Regions from separate parts of the Homo sapiens genome. Here region 1 is linked to region 2. Evidence: promoter capture Hi-C in 16 types of primary human blood cells and fetal thymus (Javierre and others, 2016). All regions are on one chromosome and are shown on one strand. The core of a region is centred on a gene start or on the middle of the fragment in contact, and the rest is flanking DNA. Distances in the headings are between cores, read along the strand shown.

Region 1 (2,700 bases), core at 176-2,675, 66 kb after region 2:
ATTCTCTACAAAAAATAAAAACAAAAATAAATTAGCTGGGCATGGTGCTGCATGCCTGTAGTCCTCCCAGCTACTTTGGAGGCTGAGGCAGTAGGATTGCTTGAACCCAGATGTTGAAAACTGCAGTGAGCTATGATCATGCCACTGCTCTCCAGCCAGGACAAAAGAGTGAGACCCTGTCTCAAATTTAAAAAATTGTTTTAGGGCCGGGCGTGGTGGCTCACACCTATAATTCCACCACTTTGGGAGTCCGAGGCAGGCAGATCACAAGGTCAGGAGTTTGAGACCAGCCTGGCCAACACAGTGAAACCCCATCTCTACTAAAAATACAAAAAAAAATTAGCTGAGCATGGTGGTGGGCGCCTGTAATCACAGCTACTTGGGAGGCTGAGGTAGGAGAATCGCTTGAACCCAGGAGGCGAAGGTTACAATGAGCCAAGATTGTGCCACCGCACTCGAGCCTGGGCGATAGTGCGAGACTTCATCTTTTTTTTTTTTTTTTTTTTTTTTTTTTTGAGACACAGGAGTGAGCCACCGCACCCAGCTGAGAGTTCATCTCAAAAAAAAAAAATTGTTTTAATAAATTAGAAAACAGTCAGGTGCGGTGACTCACATCTGTAATCCAAGCACTTTGGGAGGCCAAGGCAGGTGGATCACCTGAGGTCAGGAGTTTGAGACCAGCCTGGGCAACATGGTGAAACCCCGTCTCTACTAAAAATACAAAAATTGGCTGGGTGTAGTGGCGGGCGCCTGTAATCCCAGCTACTCGGGAGGCTGAGGCAGGAGAATCACTTCAACCCAGGAGGCAGAGGTTGTGGTGAGCAGAGATCGTGCCACTGCACTTCAGCCTGGGCCACAAGAGCAAGACTCCTTCTCAAAAATCAAACAAACAAACAAAAAATAAATAAGAAAACAGACTCCTCATAGCCATGAAGGTTTTTTTTTTTGTTTTTTTGTTTTTTTGTTTTGTTTTGTTTTGTTTTGAGACGGATTCTTGCTCTGTTGTCCAGGCTGGAGTGCAGTGGCGTGATCTTGCCTCACCACAACCTCCGCCTCCCAGGTTCAAGCGATTCTCCTGCCTCAGCTTCCTGAGTAGCTGCGATTACAGTCGCGCACCACCACGTCCTGCTAATTTTTTTTTGCTTTTTTTCAGTAGCGATGGGGTTTCACCATGTTGGTCTGGCTGGTCTCGAATTCCTGACCTTGTGATCCACCCGTCTCGGCCTCCCAAAGTGCTGGGATTATAGGCACCCGGCCTGCCATGAAGACTCCTGGAGATGCAACTTAATGCTATAACTGTCCTAAACTTAATCATTCCCAAGTCATTTCCTAGTACCCATTTAAGTAAGAAAACAGGAAAGTGGATGCCTTTTTAACAACATAACCTTGCCCCTATTCTTGCTTTACCCGAACAAGCAGTTCCACGATGTGCGCATGTCCATCGGCTGCAGCCATGTGCAAGGGGGTCCTGTCTACTTTAGTCCGGGCATCCCTGCTAACACCTGCTCGAAGGAGTACTTCTGCTGTGGAATAATGACCATATTGAGCTGCAAGGTGGAGGGGTGATGTTCCAAGCTGTGGAAAAATAATGCTCATTGAATATCCACTGTGTGCAGAGTCCTAGATCGTTACTGGAGAGATACAAATGAACAAGCTATGGTTCTTGTCCTTCAAGAGAGAATCTGGTTGGGCAGATAAAACTGAAAAAATGCTTAAATTTACAAATTAAAGGCCAGGGGCCAGGTGCACTGGCTCACACCTGTAATCCTAGCACTTTGGGAGGCCAGGGTGGGCAGATCACCTGAGGTCAGGAGTTCAAGACTCTTCTGGCCAACATGGTGAAACCCCGTCTCAACTAAAAAATACAAAAAAAGTTAGCCAGGCGTGGTGGTGGGCACCTGTAATCCCAGCTACTCAGGAGGCTGAGGCAGGGAGAATTGCTTTGAACCTGGGAGGCAGAGGTTGCAGTGAGCTGAGATTGTGCCACTGCACTCCAGCCTGGGCGACAGAGTGAAACACCGTCTCAAAAAAAAAAAAAAATTAACATGCTAATGGACAAATAAATATACCACCAATTGAATAAGTACTAAGTATAATGGCTTTATGTCAGGTGGATTTATCAGTTAAGATTCCCTAAAGGACGTGACTTTACGCAACGTCTAGAAGGTTAAAACAAACAAAAAAAGGATCAGGCTGGATGTGGTGGCTCATGCCTGCAATCCCAGCACTTTGGGAGGTCAAGGCAGGAGGACTGCTTGAGCCCAAGAGATCAAGACCAGCCTGGGCAACACAGAGAGACCTTATCTCATAATAAATTAAAAAATAAATAAATAAAGTAAATTTTAAAAAAGAAAAAGGGTAGAGACTAGAAAGTTACATGTGGAATTTGAGGTACAAATTTGACTGACTGGAAGAAAAGTTTTTTGCCACAGTAAAGCAGGGCAAAATGAATGATGAGATGAAGACGCAATAAAAATTTAGCAATGATGTATCAACAGCAATAAGTAAGTCTGTCATCCCAGTGTAAATCTTGTAAGAGTTATCTATCAGCATCCACTTTGGCCAGAGCTCTATTCCCTTCTTTTTGTTATGCTCTTTATTTTAAGCCTGTTTAGTTTATTCTTTGCTTTTTCATATATTTAGCCTCTCTGCCTGACTGAATTTAATTCACATTGTTCTTTCCAGGTCTATTTATAGAAA
Region 2 (2,700 bases), core at 136-2,635:
TCTTACAGCTACCATTTTTGGACACTGACTCTGTGCCATATGTCTGTGTGGCATAGATATTACCATCCTTGTTTTACAGCTAAGCAAATGATACTTACATTAAGTAATTTACCCAAGATCAAACGCAACTCATTTTTTGGCCCCCAAAGCCAGTGGCAGCTAGTGCACTATACTTCCTTTAAAGTAAGAAGCATAAGCATCCCAGGAATCCTAATAGGAGTAATAACTAACATTTACTGAGAACCTACTATATGCAAGTGCTTTACGTCAGTCATCTTAGCCTTCCCAATCCTGTGTAAGGTTAGGGTAGGTATCCCCATTTTGCAATGAGAAAACTGAAGCGAAGAGAAATATAGCAATTTGGCCAAAGTCACTAGTAAATTATAAAGATGGGCTTCAAACCAAATAATCCAGAGAAACCTCCTTCCCCGGAATGCTCCCAGTGTGGTTAAAGCACACTGAGGAAGCACGAGAAGCCAACACCTCAAGAAGGGCAGGCAGTCCTGAAGGTCTGAGCCTTCTGCTACACTGAACTCAGGACCCTCTTGGTGGCATATCAGCTCCATGTGTCCAGGGTTCTCTCCCCATGGTCTTCGCCTGTGGTTCTTCTGGTTGTTTTGCTTCTTACTTCCCCCTCCTCTGCTCTGCAGGATGTGGCTGTGACCGCAGTGAGGAGCAGCCTCGCCCTCTCCCCCAAACCAAAATGGGAGTCTGAAGAGGCAGAGGAGGTGGAGACTGTGGGGGTTTTTTTCCCCAGCTGAATCCTTCCAGTGGAAACCTGAACCTTGCTTTGCTCCCAGCTTGCCTTGGGGCTTTCTGGACCATGCTCCCCAGCCGGAAGAGGAGATTGCTCCATGTGAGCCTTCCTTCCTCCTTGGCCTTCCTGTTACCCAGCTCTCCATTGCCCCCATTGCCGTCTCACATTTATTCCGCTGTCTTCTCCCTCTCTCCCTGTTTCAGTCTCCCTTTTTCTCTTGTCTGGGTCCTCCCTATGATCCTCTGGCCTGGCCATACTCTCCCTCTGGCCCTTACCCATCTATCTCCTTGTTTCCTAAGATTTCCTTGCATTTCGCACACATCCATATGGATGTGGATCCACCTGCATCCCTCAGCCCTGCCCCCACCGCATCCAAAACCAGGTCTTTCAGAGGCTGCCTTGCCACCAGAAAAACTAAGCTAAGCTCTACAAAGGACCCAAGAATTGTACAAGCGAGAGTTTCACAATATGAAAAGCTAAGACTGAAAGAGCTAGAGATTCCTCTGCCACCATTACCCCTAAAGTCTACCATTCTGTCACTGCCGGTCCCTCACCTGCTGTGCTGGGTGCCAGTCTTGCCTTGGATGTTCCCGGAAAGCTTACAGAATGGAGAAGCTTCACTTAGTGTGAGAGCCCTTTGGCTTGGCCCCACCCCTTGAGCCCCGCCTACCTACTCTCTGCTTAACCTCCGGTTCATCACTTCTGTCACCAAGAAGGCCTATGGCCCAAGAGCAACCTAGAAATAAGACAAAGGTCAAAAAGAGTGGAATTCTGTTGGAAATAGTCTCAATTCTTTGAAGGGGGGAAAGGGATTTGCATCCTCCACTCTCAAATTGCTTCTTTCTTTTCTTGCTGCCCAGTTCCTGAAGATCCTGTCCTTACATTTCTACAGTACTGGGAAGGATGTAAAGCCCAAATTTCTGGGGTAGGAGGTCAGTGGGAAAAGTTCTGAAGATTGAAAGGTGGTGCTGTGGGGCAAGTATTTAATATATTATTCCAGTGATTGCCAGGTAAGAGCACAGACTGTCACAACCCTTAATACTGAAGGGAGGAAGGTGCTGGGACCAGGGCTGCTGCACCACAGGTGACCAGCAGGTGCCAGCACAGCACTGAATCACTAGCGTAGAGGAACAAGCCTACTGAGTTGCCTTTTTTTTTTTTTTTTTTTTTTTTTTTGAGACAGAGTTTTGCTCTTGTTGCCCAGGCTGGAGTGCAATGGGGTGATCTCGGCTCACTGCAACCTCTGCCTCCCGGGTTCAAGTGATTCTCCTGCCTCAACCTCCCAAGTAGCTGAAATTACAGGCCTGTGCCACCATGCCTGGCTTATTTTGTATTTTTAGTAGAGACGGTTTCACCATGTTGGCCAGGATCGTCTTGAACTCCTGACCTCAGGTGATCCACCTTGGCCTTCCAGAGTGCTGGGATTACAGGTGTGAGCCAACGCACCCCGCAGGGCCTACTGAGTAGGCTACTGTAGTAGCTACTTTGTAGCTGCTAAAGGGATACAAAATGAGGGGAAGCCACAATTGGGTTTTGTTTGTTTGTTTGTTGTTTTGTTTTTGAGATAGGGTCTCACTCTGTCGCCCAGGCCACAGTGCAGTGGCATCATCACAGCTGACTGCAGCCTTGACCTCCTGGGCTCAAGAGCTCTTCCTACTTCAGCCTCCCAAGTAGCTGGGACCAGAGGCTCACAAGCCTTCCTTTTTTTTGTAGAGAGGAGGGTCTAACTATGTTGCCCAGGCTGAACTTCTAAGCTCAAGCAATCCTCCTACCTTAGTCTCCCAAAGTGTTGGGATTACAGGCGTGAGCCACTGCACCCATCCTGGAAGTCACAGTTGTTGAATGAGACAAAAACACTTGCTATCAAGAATCTTATGGGGAATCTGGCGAGGGAAATAAGCTTAAACATAAAGAACAGTAATACTAGTCAAACAATGCCATTA

Evidence for each region. Contacts are between HindIII fragments. The CHiCAGO score rates a contact against its expected background, and 5 or more counts as called.
Region 1: a contact is called between a fragment that was not itself captured here and the fragment with the promoter of TNFAIP8L2 in region 2, in 6 of 17 cell types (megakaryocytes, endothelial precursors, M2 macrophages and 3 more). The highest score is 12.0, in megakaryocytes.

The regions. Positions count from the first base shown.
Region 1 is chr1:151,089,281-151,091,980 of GRCh38, reverse strand. GABPB2 (GA binding protein transcription factor subunit beta 2) reads right to left here. Exons shown (of 9, transcript NM_144618.3): 3 at 1,408-1,575. Among named protein-coding and RNA genes, the nearest start is that of GABPB2, 20 kb to the right of the region's middle. The HindIII fragment of the contact is 4,511 bases long and covers 1-2,700 here.
Region 2 is chr1:151,155,334-151,158,033 of GRCh38, reverse strand. TNFAIP8L2 (TNF alpha induced protein 8 like 2) reads right to left here and starts at 1,385. Exons shown (of 2, transcript NM_024575.5): 1 at 1,312-1,385. TNFAIP8L2-SCNM1 (TNFAIP8L2-SCNM1 readthrough) reads right to left here and starts at 1,385. Exons shown (of 7, transcript NR_144937.2): 1 at 1,312-1,385. It also overlaps a transcript of LYSMD1 not described here. The HindIII fragment of the contact is 1,285 bases long and covers 1,375-2,659 here.